2 separate regions of the Homo sapiens genome follow, and region 2 is linked to region 1. Evidence: promoter capture Hi-C in 16 types of primary human blood cells and fetal thymus (Javierre and others, 2016). All regions are on one chromosome and are shown on one strand. The core of a region is centred on a gene start or on the middle of the fragment in contact, and the rest is flanking DNA. Distances in the headings are between cores, read along the strand shown.

What was found. The method cuts DNA at HindIII sites, captures the fragments that hold promoters and counts their contacts. A CHiCAGO score of 5 or more calls a contact.
Region 2: a contact is called between a fragment that was not itself captured here and the fragment with the promoter of LRRC40 in region 1, in 1 of 17 cell types (total CD4 T cells). The highest score is 6.8, in total CD4 T cells.

Annotation. Positions count from the first base shown.
Region 1 is chr1:70,203,072-70,209,516 of GRCh38, reverse strand. LRRC40 (leucine rich repeat containing 40) reads left to right here and starts at 3,938. Exons shown (of 15, transcript NM_017768.5): 1 at 3,938-4,127. The coding sequence starts at 3,977. It also overlaps a transcript of SRSF11 not described here. RefSeq lists enhancers at 3,715-4,024, 4,285-4,344. The HindIII fragment of the contact is 8,465 bases long and covers 454-6,445 here.
Region 2 is chr1:67,045,286-67,051,730 of GRCh38, reverse strand. SLC35D1 (solute carrier family 35 member D1) reads left to right here. Exons shown (of 12, transcript NM_015139.3): 5 at 1,227-1,298; 6 at 1,881-1,949; 7 at 4,364-4,466. Among named protein-coding and RNA genes, the nearest start is that of SLC35D1, 5.6 kb to the left of the region's middle. The HindIII fragment of the contact is 3,063 bases long and covers 1-2,903 here.

The DNA.
Region 1 (6,445 bases), core at 2,689-5,188:
TTTAAAGAAAACTAAAATGTTCTCTCAATAAACAACTTTTACCATAAGATAGCAGCTCTCATACATAAGGCAATATTCTGAAAGATAAACACAATACAATTCAAAATAGGCTAAATTTGTTACTTTACACAAAAAGAAACTTCCTAGAATGTCTGCAAAACAAATACACTTTGCTCTTACTTGACTCCATTTTATAAACAAGTGTGCTTGCAAATCTGCCAAATTAACTCAATTTACCCTTACTACAATTTCAGACTTCAATAATCCATCTCATCAATTGTACCTTTCATCTATGTCTTAATAAATTTTAATGGTAGAGACAAGCTGCTCTATACTTTGATAACAGTCTTACTTTCTGTTATGAAACAAAACTGTACCCTTTGGCCAATGTGATTTTTAGGTTTAACATAAATTTGGTTTCTTCATTTTCTTTTCTCATTTAGCAAAGAAGCTTGAAGAGGGAAGCCTTTCATCACTTAAATAAAATGAATATAATAAATTCTGGCTAGACAATTCCATTACAAAAGGTAGCTATGCAGTAGTCTCCAGCCTTGACACAGGAGACATTCATTTCACATTATTTTAGTAATGTATATAAAGTCAATTTTTCTAAAAAAGCAAATACTTTGACTTAAATGCCAGTGTTGAAAAAGAGTTAGAATTTTTGCTTTCAATGTATTCTCCTTAAAACAATGGAAATGGAGCTAATTCTCACATAAGTATATATAACTATCTTTTCATAAAGAAGCTCAGTTGAAGTTGATTAGCTTTCAGTTTCCATCCATTTGAGACAAAACATGTTATTTTCTCTATTGCATTAGGTAATAATTTTTACTGTAACTTGCTCAATCTGCACTTACTACATAAATACAATACAGCAGCTGGGTGCGGTGGCTCACACCTGTAATTCCCGCAATTTCGGGGGCCGAGGCAGGTGGATCACATGAGGCCAGGAGTTTGAGACCAATCTGGCCAACATGGCGAAACCCTGCCTCTGCTAAAAAAATACAAAAAAATTAGCTGGGTGTGGTGGTGCGTACCTGTAATGCCAGCTTCTTGGGAGGCTGAGGCAGGAGAAATCACTTGAAGCTGGGAGGTGGAGGTTGCAGTGACCAAGGTTGAGCCATTGCACTCTAGGCTGGGTGACAGTGCGAGACTCCATCTCACTCACACACACACACACACACACACCATACACTGTATTACAGTAACTAGTACATTCTTATATATGTCAGTTTATATCTATTGGAGTTTACCACAAGCATATGGCCACTGGGATTTTTTTTCAGAATTACTCTTTGCCATTAAACAGAAGATACTTTCCTTATACAAGATGAAACAATGTTTTAATACAGTATCATTAAATGTCAATAATGAAATATTTAACTTCAAGAACAACAAATTTAAAAATTATACCTTGCTGTTATTTTTTAATAAATTGAACTAGGCAGGGTGTGGTGGCTCATGCCTATAATCCCAGTGCTTTGGAAGGCCCCAGATAGAAGGATTGCTTGAGGTGGCTCATGCCTGTAATCCCAGTGCTATGGAAGGCCCTAGATGGAAGGATAGCTTGAGGCCAGGAGTTCAAGACCAGCCTTGGCAACACAGACTCGTTTCTACAAAAAATAAAAACAATTAGCTGGGCATGGTGGTGTGATGGCTACTCAGGAAGCTGAGGTGGGAGGACTGTTTGAGCCCAGGATTTCGAGGTTGCAGTGAGCTGTGATCGCACCACTGTACTTCATCATGGGTGACAGAGTGAGACCTGGTCTCTTAAAAAAAAAAAAAAAAAGAACGAAAGAAGAATCTATTGTAGGGGGAGGGGTGGTTACTGTAAAATTTTGTACTCGAGCAATTCAATTCTCCAAAGGTGGGTTGTTTCTTCCCCAAAGGTAGGTTGTTACTATAAAGAGAAAAAGGTGGTTCTTTAATAAAGAAATCTTCTTAAAAACAACTGAAGTGTCTCTTACAATGATTACAGGATTAAAAAAAAAAGCAAGTTGGGAATTATGAAAAGCCACTAGGGAAGTCATGGTGATTAAAAAGAAAGGTTTTGGAGACAGATCTAGGTTCAAATTCCTGGTCGTGCTATTCAGAGAAACTTGTGAGGTTGGGTAAGTTTCTTCACCCCTTTTAGCCTCAATTTCCTTATCTGCAAAATTAGTCACTGTGTTAAATAAGAAATAGCAAACAGAGGTATTATTAGCACTGAGCCTGGTATGGGCCCAATAAGGCAGCTATTACCATTACTGTGAAGACAAGCTGACCAGGGACCTCATTAATAACGTTGCAAAAGCTGCTACGGTCGTTTTCCTTTAAAACTCAGGCTGGGCACGGCGACTGACACCTGTAATCCCAGCACTTTGGGAGGCCGAACTGGGCGGATCGCTTGAGGCTGGGAGTTCGAGACCAGCCTGACCAACATGGCGAAACTCCGTCTCTACTAAAAAATATAAAAATTAGCCAGGTGTGGTGGTGCGCGGCTATAATCCCAGCTACTGGAGAGGCTGAGGCAGGAGAATCACTTGAACCTGGGAGGCGGAGGTTGCAGTGAGCCGGGATCACGCCACTGCATTCCAGCCTAGGCGACAGACCAGACTTTGTCTCAAAAAAAAAAAAAAAAAAAAGACAAAAATCCACTCTTTGCTTTTTTAGTAGGGTAACAACTATTGGTAACTTTCTCTTGTTCGATATTAGTGTAAAGGACTCCACAGAAATAAGAACAAAAAGGGTAGAGTTAAAAACCGAATTTTACAGGTAGCAATAACCTGGACTCAGGTAAAAGTGCGTGATGAAGAATTGATCAAAGGGCCTTCATCCTAGCTTTCAACTATTCTACCAATCCTCAGTAGACTTGATGGGGGTTAGAATGGTATTCCCTGGCATATGCTTTTAAAACAAAATCATTTCAGGCAAAAGAAAAGTCTAGCACCCAGGATAGTACACATACTAGGCAGGATTAATCTTAATAATTACTTGTTGAATCAAGAAGTTGTACATTTCAGATGAAAATTTTAATTTCCTAGGAAACACCGACTTACATTGAACAAAATTTTCATTTGCTATTATTCTGGACTCACCGAGAGCTCAAGATTCTAGTTTTTATCTTCACTTATTTCAAAAACCTTATGCGGTAGGAATTATCCCCAAAGTAATGAAAAAAAGGAATGAGCTTTAAAAGCGGTTGAGTAAACTGCCTAAAGTTAACAGTTTCTAAAGTAAAGAAGCAGCTGAGATTTGAACTTGCTTTTTAGGGCTCAAAAATCCAAGCTGTCTGAGCTTCACTAAAGCATGTACCACTACTTGTCTCCCTAAACTGTCTGATACACAGAACATTTATTAAATTTTAAGGATTTTTGTTTTTGTCTTCTATGTTGCCAGTCCTTCCATTTCACATTACCTCCTTTGCTGGGTAAGCTATATACCCTCAATACAACGAGAATGGTGTCAGAGTACAAGCCTTAAGAACAGAAAATTTCTTTTACTCCGTACGCCAGAGGTCTGGCGCCACCACCACAAGCGACAAACACAGGCTGGGGTCCAGAAACGCTGCCGACCGCGCCCAGATCTCAAGTTTTAGTCAAGGCCCACGTTCAGACTAGGAGAGGGGAGAAGAGAGGGTTCTCTTTCCCCACACCCTCGCCACGGTGGAAGCACAGAGGAGAAGGTTGGAGTCGCAGTAACAGTGCAAACAATAAACCCGAAAGCCCCTCTTAAGCCCGTTAAACGCACTTACTTGATTGAAGTAATTCCAGGACGCTAGGCCGGCACCGGCAACGGAAAAGGCTTCTCTGTCCTCCAGCCCAGGCGCTGGTGCTGACGACATCTGGACTGCGCCGCAGAGAGTGAAGGCCCAGCGCGAGGCCGCGAGCCCAGCGCCCAGAGCGCGCGCTCACGAAAGGAGCGGGGCATCCCAACGGCGCCACCTTTAAGCGTCACGGGTGGGGCTGCAGCTTCTGGACCTAGGACTTTGAACATGTCGCGCCTGAAGCGGATAGCGGGGCAGGATCTCCGCGCTGGTTTCAAAGCAGGTGGAAGAGACTGCGGTACCTCGGTACCCCAAGGGCTGTTGAAGGCAGCGAGGAAGAGCGGCCAGTTAAACCTGTCGGGTAGAAACCTCAGTGAAGGTAAGACCCAGAGGTACGACCCTATTGTGTCTCCTGTCAGAAAGCCTTTGGCCCAGGCAACCTCCCTTTTCTCTGGGCTGGCTTTGGCCCCCTTTCTCAGACTGCTAGCCAGAATTTCTGTGCTCTAATCTAATCCCTGTGCTCATTTCGACCGGTTTGGTTAGCCCAGTTCAGTTCCTTCCCAGGTTCCCGCAATCTCTGTTAAAGGGACCCTGCTAAAAATACGGTCTAAATTTAAACGGGGCGCTTTCTGGGATTCCCACATTCTGTGGGATAAGCAACATAATATGTGACGAAACCAGCTATCAAATCACGGGCAAATCTTTTGTTTCTTTGGCCCTTATTTTCCTCCTCTTATTGTAATCTTCAAGGGCAATTACCAAAGCTAAAATTATATGTTTTATCGGCCCCTTTGTGAACCTGCACTGTTCCCTGCCGAGACGCTCTTCTGTATGCAGCTGTGCAGAGTTCTACTTACAAGGAATAATGAGTATATTTTCTAAGTTGAAGATCAGGATAGATGCCACACAGAGTGTTTGAATGTGGGGACATCCTGAGAAACCTGTTAAAGACCAAGAAGCACAAATCTGGGTACCATGAATGAATGGCCAGATGCTCTTCTGATTGTCGTGTGTGTGTGTGTGTGTGTGTGTGTGTAAGAGAGAGAGGGAGGGGAATGGAGAGATGGAGAAATAGAGCATTTTTCCTGTAATGTTTTTCTTCATTTATATTTAGGTTTTAAGACTGATTAAAACCTTCCATTTTCCTTCTAATGATTGCTTTCTTATTGTGACATGTATAAAGTAGATTAGGCAAGCAAATGCTTCTGAATGAATGAAAAGACACAGAATCCTTACTCCACCTAAAAGAGTTTTTGATCAATGGGAACATACTCATTTTCAAACTACAGTTGTGCATATATATATATCTACTTGGTTTCCCCAAAACCTGAAACATTTTTCTCTAAACTTGCATACCTATCATGCTAACATTCTGTTCTCTTACCTGTTTAATTTTTTAACAGCATTTATCACTATCAGAATTTATATCATTTATGTTTTTTGTTTTCTCTGCCCTCCAACCAAAAGGTTAATATCATGAAGTCAGTGAGCTTTGTTTTGTGCTTTGTTGTATTTCTATCACTGAAAATAGTGCTTGGTACATAGTAGAGTCTTATTAAATTTTGCGGAAGCAATAAGTAAGTGAATGAGTATTCTCAAATCATAAGTGGTGTGCTAGAATGTACTTATTGACTAGACTCAGGTGGTTTCGTCTGTTAAACTTTAAGAGAGCACATGGATTCTGACTCTTAGGTCCGTGATGATATGGATTAGAACTGCTTAGGTTATTGTTATATAACCAGAACCTAACACTTTACCTGGTACATAAAATGATTTTAAATGAGTGAATAAACAGCATTTCATAGGAGGGAAAGATATAAATGGCAGAAACTCATGGTATTTGTAGCTTATATATAAAAAAGGAATCCCTGTTACTATAATATAGAAAGTCTTTCTCTGTCTGGCTGTATGTAGCCCTCAGTTTCATCACTTGTTAGTGAAACTTTGATAGGCAAACCACTATAATTCTGAACTGTTTGTAGTTCGTTACGGGGTCGTGCTTCTTATCTTCCTATCTTTGCTCACATAACATTGAGATGGTTAATCACTCTGTGCCCTAATTTCTCATTTATTATGCAGGAGTCATAACAGGACCTATTAAGGTCTAAATGAGATAAAATGAAATAAAGTGCCTGGTACATAAAAAGTACACAGTAAAAATTCACCATTGCTGTTATCATGGCAGCACCTTCTAGTTGGTTTCCTGGAGTTTTTACTTTACATCTCACTCTTGCTACTCCAGAGGCTGAGGCAGGAGGATCACTTGAGTCCAGGAGTTTAAGGCTGTAGTGCCTTATGATCACACCTGTGAATAGCCACTGCACTCTAGCTTGGACAATATTGTGAGACCCTGTCCATAAACAACAACAACAACTACCCTCACACTCTAAATCCTAGTGTCATTACCAAGAGTTATTTTTCCAAAACAGATCTTACATCACTCAAAACGTTTAATGACTTCCCATAGCCCAGAAGATACGGTATAGGTAAACTTTTTAGCACAGCATACAAAAGTCTTTCTAAACCTTTCCCTTAACTATTTACTTTGAGGCCTCTTTTCAGTATCCTATACTTTGATAATGATAGTAGCTCATGCCTGTAATCCCAGCACTCTGGCAAATTGAGAGGCAGGAGGATCGCTTTGAGGCCAGAAATTCAAGACCAGCCTGAGGCAACATAGTGAGACCCCATCTCTAC
Region 2 (6,445 bases), core at 123-2,622, 3.2 Mb after region 1:
TTATTATTTTTCTAGAGCCACAATAGTGAAGATATATACTAGGCTTCTGGGATTTCAGTTCTTTAGTATAGTTCATAAATATTTTAGGCAACTTCCACACAGCAAAATTAGAGGGTAGGCACAAGAACTTTTGCAGTTTTTCTTTTAATGTGAAGTAAGGTAACATCAGCTAGAACCCTGATAAAAATATTATTAATATCTTACACATGGCATGTAACTGTAGAGGCAACATACTTATTTTCAGAAAGAAGCAATAGCTCTCCTCTCCATGGTAACACTGTCTTTCCCTCTAACCTCCCGGTTTCTGGCTTCTGCTCTTATTGTAGTGTACATATCGGTTGTGTGTGGTATTAAAATGACACAAATAGAGAAAACATTTAACAGAAACCCCATGGCTTCACCACTACCACACAAGCTAAAACCCTGGCATTGTAAAATAGAATGGAGAGATTTTTGAGCATCAAGGACAAGGTGTTTTTCATTTCTTCCTTTAAAACCCGAGAAACCTGACAGAATGACCGAGATGATATCTCTGAAGAGGGTTCCAAGGAAGTCAGATTTATCATGGGTGGGACATTTTTTTCCATTTCATTACCCACCAGGAAAGAAATGCAGGCCTTCTGCAAAGTGCTGCTTGTGTAGAGTTTGCTTTTTTTCATCCATCTCATCCAACCATTCATTCACACCTATCTTTGATTGCCAGCTAAGTATAAGGCACTTTGGAGTGAGATAAGATATATTCAGAAATAACTATATTGCAAGAGGCTGTATGTTTGATTAGTACAAGCAAAATGCTCTGGGAATTTAGATGAAGACAAAATTACATCCACAAAAGGACAGTCAAGGCATTTCATGGGGTAAGATTTTCATAGATGGTTTTTGGGTGGTCTAGGGGGTGGGAAGGGAGGTCAGACTAGTGAAAAAATGAGAAGGAAGCCTTTTTCTATTAAAAACTGACATATTTACAGCTTAGGGTTTTGCATAATTAGAATAAAGTTTTGTAGTTAATTTAATGTTTCTCACTTCTAGTAGTTTTTTAAAAGCAACTGTTGTAGGCTTTCAAGTAGGAATTGCTTCTAGAGAGAAGCAGGGGTTTAACCATAAATTAATTTGTATGGAATTTCCATAATGGAAGAATAGCATTATTTTAACTACCAATTTGGAAAATCTTAGTTTAAAACAAATTGTTAAATTCTATTTTACCTAATTATCTTTTTTTTTTCCAGCTTGCCAATGTTTACAGTTCTGAGAAGGTTCTCCATCCTGTTTACAATGTTTGCTGAAGGAGTTTTACTCAAGTGAGCTAAGTTTCTAATATATCTGTTCTTTAAATCACCTTGAAAAGGTGCCCAGCATATGTGAGATATTAAATTATTTGTCTTGTTCCTACCTTACCTTTTGAGAAGTTTAAGCAACCCTCTCTCTTGGCTGCTGGAATTGATAGTTTGTGGGAGTGGTAGTTGGGAAGGTTATGAATTAGAGTTGAAAATCTTATCTGAACGTGAGATTTACTTTCTAGAATTTCTGTACTACTGCCACCGGGAGAAGCTGGATCAGAATCATAGGTATAGGTTTTAAATAGTGTTCATGTCTAGCTCCAAATGAATGTGACATTTTTCTGTTAAAGAAATTCTGCTTCACAAAAATTCAAACTCACTAATAATGACAATAGGTGAAAATTTTAAAAGTGGGTGTAATAACTTATATAACAATAAATTTTTGCTTTATCAAAGGGGTTCTTTTAAATATCAGTTTCTCAGAAATGTTTAAAATACGATTGTTTATAGCTTTTGAGAAAGCATATCCCATTTTTTGCTTCTGTTGTAAAATGAGTGTGGGAATAAAGTCATGTGTGTATTTTAAAATTTTTTGTTTTGTAGGAAGACTTTTTCTTGGGGTATTAAAATGACTGTATTTGCAATGATTATTGGAGCCTTTGTAGCTGCCAGGTAAGATGTGGGCCTATGACTAGCACATTATAAATTGTCAATAATTATTGATAATAAATGATTGCTTATCAATAACAATTTTTTATTGCCTAAATAAGAATTATATCTTTGAAAAGCATCTAGAAGACTCTTGAAAAGGTTAAATCTTTTTGGCTGTATTAAGATAAAGGTTGACAAAAATAAGATTCTTGGGATTGTTAAAATTTAAATTGATGTAATTTAGAATTTGTTACTGTCGTTGTGCTGAGCACATAGCATGTGCCACACAATATGTTTGGCATTTTACACATCTTATTATGTATTCTTCACAACACCTCTGAGAGGTATGGGTATAATTTTCCTATTTTATAGTTGAAGAAACTAAAACTTAAGTTCAATAACTTACTTAAGGTCACAGAGCTAATGGCAGAGCTGAAATTTGAATCTGTGGCTTTCTTCAGAGCCTGTGTGTTTTTATAAACCATGTGGCATTTCTTTTTTTTTTTTTTGAGACGGAGTCTTGCTCTGTCGCCCAGGCTGGAGTCCAGTAGTGGGCTCTCGGCTCACTGCAAGCTCCGCCTCCCAGGTTTACGCCATTCTCCTGCCTCAGCCTCCCGAGTAGCTGGGACTACAGGTGTCTGCCACCACACCCAGCTAATTTTTTGTATTCTTAGTAGACACGGAGTTTCACCATGTTAGCCAGGATGGTCTCGATCTCCTGACCTCGTGATCCGCCTGCCTTGGCCTCCCAAAGTGCTGGGATTACAGGCGTGAGCCACCGCGCCTGGCCTGGCGTTCCTTAATTTTGCATGCTGCTAAAGAAAAGCATGTCTCCTCTTCTGTGAGGTGAGGAAAATGACTATGAAACATTTGCTTGCCTTTTCGAATAATGAACAATAACATTGCTTTAATTGGCCTCACATAAGATATGTCACAAATGCCATAACTTAGATATTCTATTAGGTTATTAAAGCTTTTCCCATTTTTCTTAAGTTTTAGTTTTAAAATACATGAGGAAAATGTATACCCACAGACCTAGAAAATTATAATGATGCTAGAAGTCTTCTACAACATTTTAATCAGCCCAGGGCATGCATATATGTATTTACTAATGCCACACATTCTGCCAGACATATGTTTTCCATCCAGGAGTTCCAGTGTACTTCTTGAATTGACTCATTTACCTTCATCACATTCCTGTAGTATAGGTGGAAGAAAATATTATCAGTCCAGTCCTGTTTTACAAGTCCAATCTCCAAGTAAAATTTCATTCTAAAAAAAAGAGAGTGGCGTAATTGGTTACTAGAAATTGGCTATATAGCTAACTGCTTTTCCTTCTATGTCATATTCCCCCCTTGGAGAAAAATTCTATGCTAGCCTCCTACCTTTCTTTTTAGAGGTGCCCTGCTAGTCTTTGAAACATTTCCTTGAAGCTGATGGGACCCAAAATTGTACCAAACAACAGGGGTTCCTCAGGGCTTTCTTGTGTCTACAAAAACTTCTGAAAAGGATTACTGTCTGGACCAGCCTTATCTGGTTAGACCCTTTGACTTGGAAAAAGATTGAAAGGAAGGGAACTCAGACCTCTGAAGTCAGTCAGAAGGTTGTTAGACTGCTTGGGGTAGGGAGTGTGCATTAAGTTAGTCCTGCCTAAAATTGCAGTGGCATAGAACTCATTAGATAAGTCTTGGCTCCTATACAGTATCTCTGCAAAATCAGAGTCTGTGCAGCCACTATTTTAGCTAGGGTGCTGAAGTATGCTGAAGGCATACCTTTCTCAGATTTTCATTTATTCTGTTTAATTTACTAAATTCTTATCTCGTGCCTGGTACTCTAAGTTCCAGAAATTTTCAGTTTCCCTAAACCCCCAAGTTATACTTCACAGGTTCATTGAGCTATTGTTTAAGTATTTGAGTTCCTGCTATGTGCTTAGACATTGTTCTAGCTTGATCTCAGAACTAACCATGATCCACACTTCAGAAATTTCACCCAGGGGCCCAACTACCTATGCAAGATAGTCCTACCTTTCATGTGGACCTTCAGAAAATGACTTGTTAATGGCCTCATCCTTTTGGTTTTCTTGTCTATGAAATTGAGCTCTGCCTGCTTCTGCCTGCTTCACAGATGTACTTAATGGTAATTTGGTGCTTGTTGTCATCTGGCTTTGAATGCAGAGCGGTGTGCTATTAAATGACATGAATGACCGTTGCTAATTATGTGTTTAAATGTTAGTGCCTCTTATTTCTGAGGAATCCCTTATTGAGGTGAAATTGCAAACTATGACCAGAAATCAAGAAATACTAGTAGCTGATAAAATGCCTAATATTCACTTCCCTAGATGAGAATATGTTCTTGTAAATATTTTAGCTTATATCTATTTAAAATTAAATGCATGTTCTTTAAGTTGTTCTTAAAGTGTTGCTTATGTTTTGCAGCTCTGACTTGGCATTTGATCTGGAAGGATATGCTTTTATTCTGATAAACGATGTCCTAACAGCAGCAAATGGTGCATACGTAAAACAAAAATTAGATTCAAAAGTAAGTAGCAATCTAAAGCTTTAACAGTTGTGTACTGATGTTGGCATGTCAATTCATAGGAGAAAAAGTGGGGAATAAAGAAAGTTCTTACTGGGGATGAGAAAGACATAGTGGCTCTCTGAGGGTAAAATTCCTGTACTTTAGTGTTCATATAAGAAACTTTATTTTTTAATTAATTAGCAATTAGGTTTTATTCCAGGCTTTTCTGGGATTGCGTGAATTTTGACTTCGTGTGGGGTAGGGAAAGTAAAGTGTGTTCACTGCAGTGTCTTTAAATGTTCATGGCTGTATTCTAGAGGACTTTCCGAGGGACCTGGGAGGCAGAAAGAGAACTACTTGGAAACCTTTGGGCAGACTTGAAGGGAAATGAATGTTGGAAGGGGCTGCAAAACAAAAATGGCCTTTATGTATTTGCCCTATAAATAATGGGAAATTTTAGGGAGCATTAGTATCTCTGTCTCTCTTAGGGGCAACACAGTGTTTCCTGGCCTTGGCTTTACCAGATATTGTTTATTTGTTTACTATATACTTTAAATATATTATTTTTAGATCAAGCCAGATTATTAGAAAGCTGAGTATTTGAATCATATTGCTTTTGCAACATTACGTTATGAGATTACATTACTGTAAGAAACACCTAAATGGATCTCAACTTTATATATCCTAGGGTGGCTAATTGAAGGAATTGTCCTTGATATCATAATGTATCCTATATGAGGACTCATATGAGATACTTATCTTAGATGTCACCATAGTTTTTCCTGAGCAGCTGGTACATTTTTATCTCATAATTACATCTTGTAACTGACCATGACTTTATCTTATTTTCCTACCCATATTTTCTCTTTAGTCAGATGACTTTAACTGCTTAGTTTTTAGTCTTTTCTATTATGTGTAGAATGTTTCTGAAACTACTTAAGTTCCTTTTTGGGAGCTTAGATAATAAATAAATACAAGTGTCCTACCTGCTTGATAGTACTATTAGTATTGAATTGATCTTGCCTTGGCCAGGGGCTTTGCCTGCTCCTCTAGAAAAGAAGTGTAGATTCAATGTCTATCCCAGTAGGTTTCATTATTTTGCAGATAGTTTATTTTTTTTTGTTTTGTTTTTGTTTTTGGAATAGGCTTGAAGAACCAAGGACGGTGTTGATTTGTTTCCAATCCATTTTCTTTAAATATGCATGTCTTGGCCTCCATTTATTTGCTTTGATGAATCTATATGATGGTTACATTTTAATGGAAGCTACTAGTAAGAATTTTTATCTTTTTAAAATAGCTAGAGAAAAGGTAGCAGTTAGTGATTGATCTTACTCTTTTCTTCAGCCCATTTGCTGCTTTGGAAAATAGATACTATTAATGACATTTTATTTGTCCAGCAGCTTCAGTTGTCTAAAACATCACTGTTAATAGAATTTTCTGTGACATTGGAAATTTATATTTCTGCTTTCCATTAACTGGTCATTAGCCATGCATGGCCCTTGAGCACTTGAAAATAACTGAGAAACTGAAATCAGTAGTTTTATGTGATTATAATTAAATTGAAATAGCTACATGTGGCTAGTGGCTACCATATTAGTACAATCTATAGTATATCCTAGAATCTAGAAAAAAAATCAAAGTTTCTGAGTGTTTTATTCCTAGGAGAGCCCTTCAGTTTCTCACTTAGAAATCACTATGACTTATTTATACTAGAACTTTTAAGTTCATTGATTACTTCTCCTAGCTCATATCTTATAAGCAACAAACTAGAAGGTAGAATTCTATTTAGAGGCAGAGAGGTTTACCAGCAGTATAAAAGGTCAGCTAACAAGAGAAACAGTCAGATTGTAAAAGACAGAAATACTGGAGAAGAAGAAAAAGATACAGGGTCTATTAAACAGCCGTAAGGGCAACACTGAATAAGAACATAATACATAAACATAATAATACAGATTTATGATGCGTAACAGTGTATCATAAGATGTAATAATACATGTTTA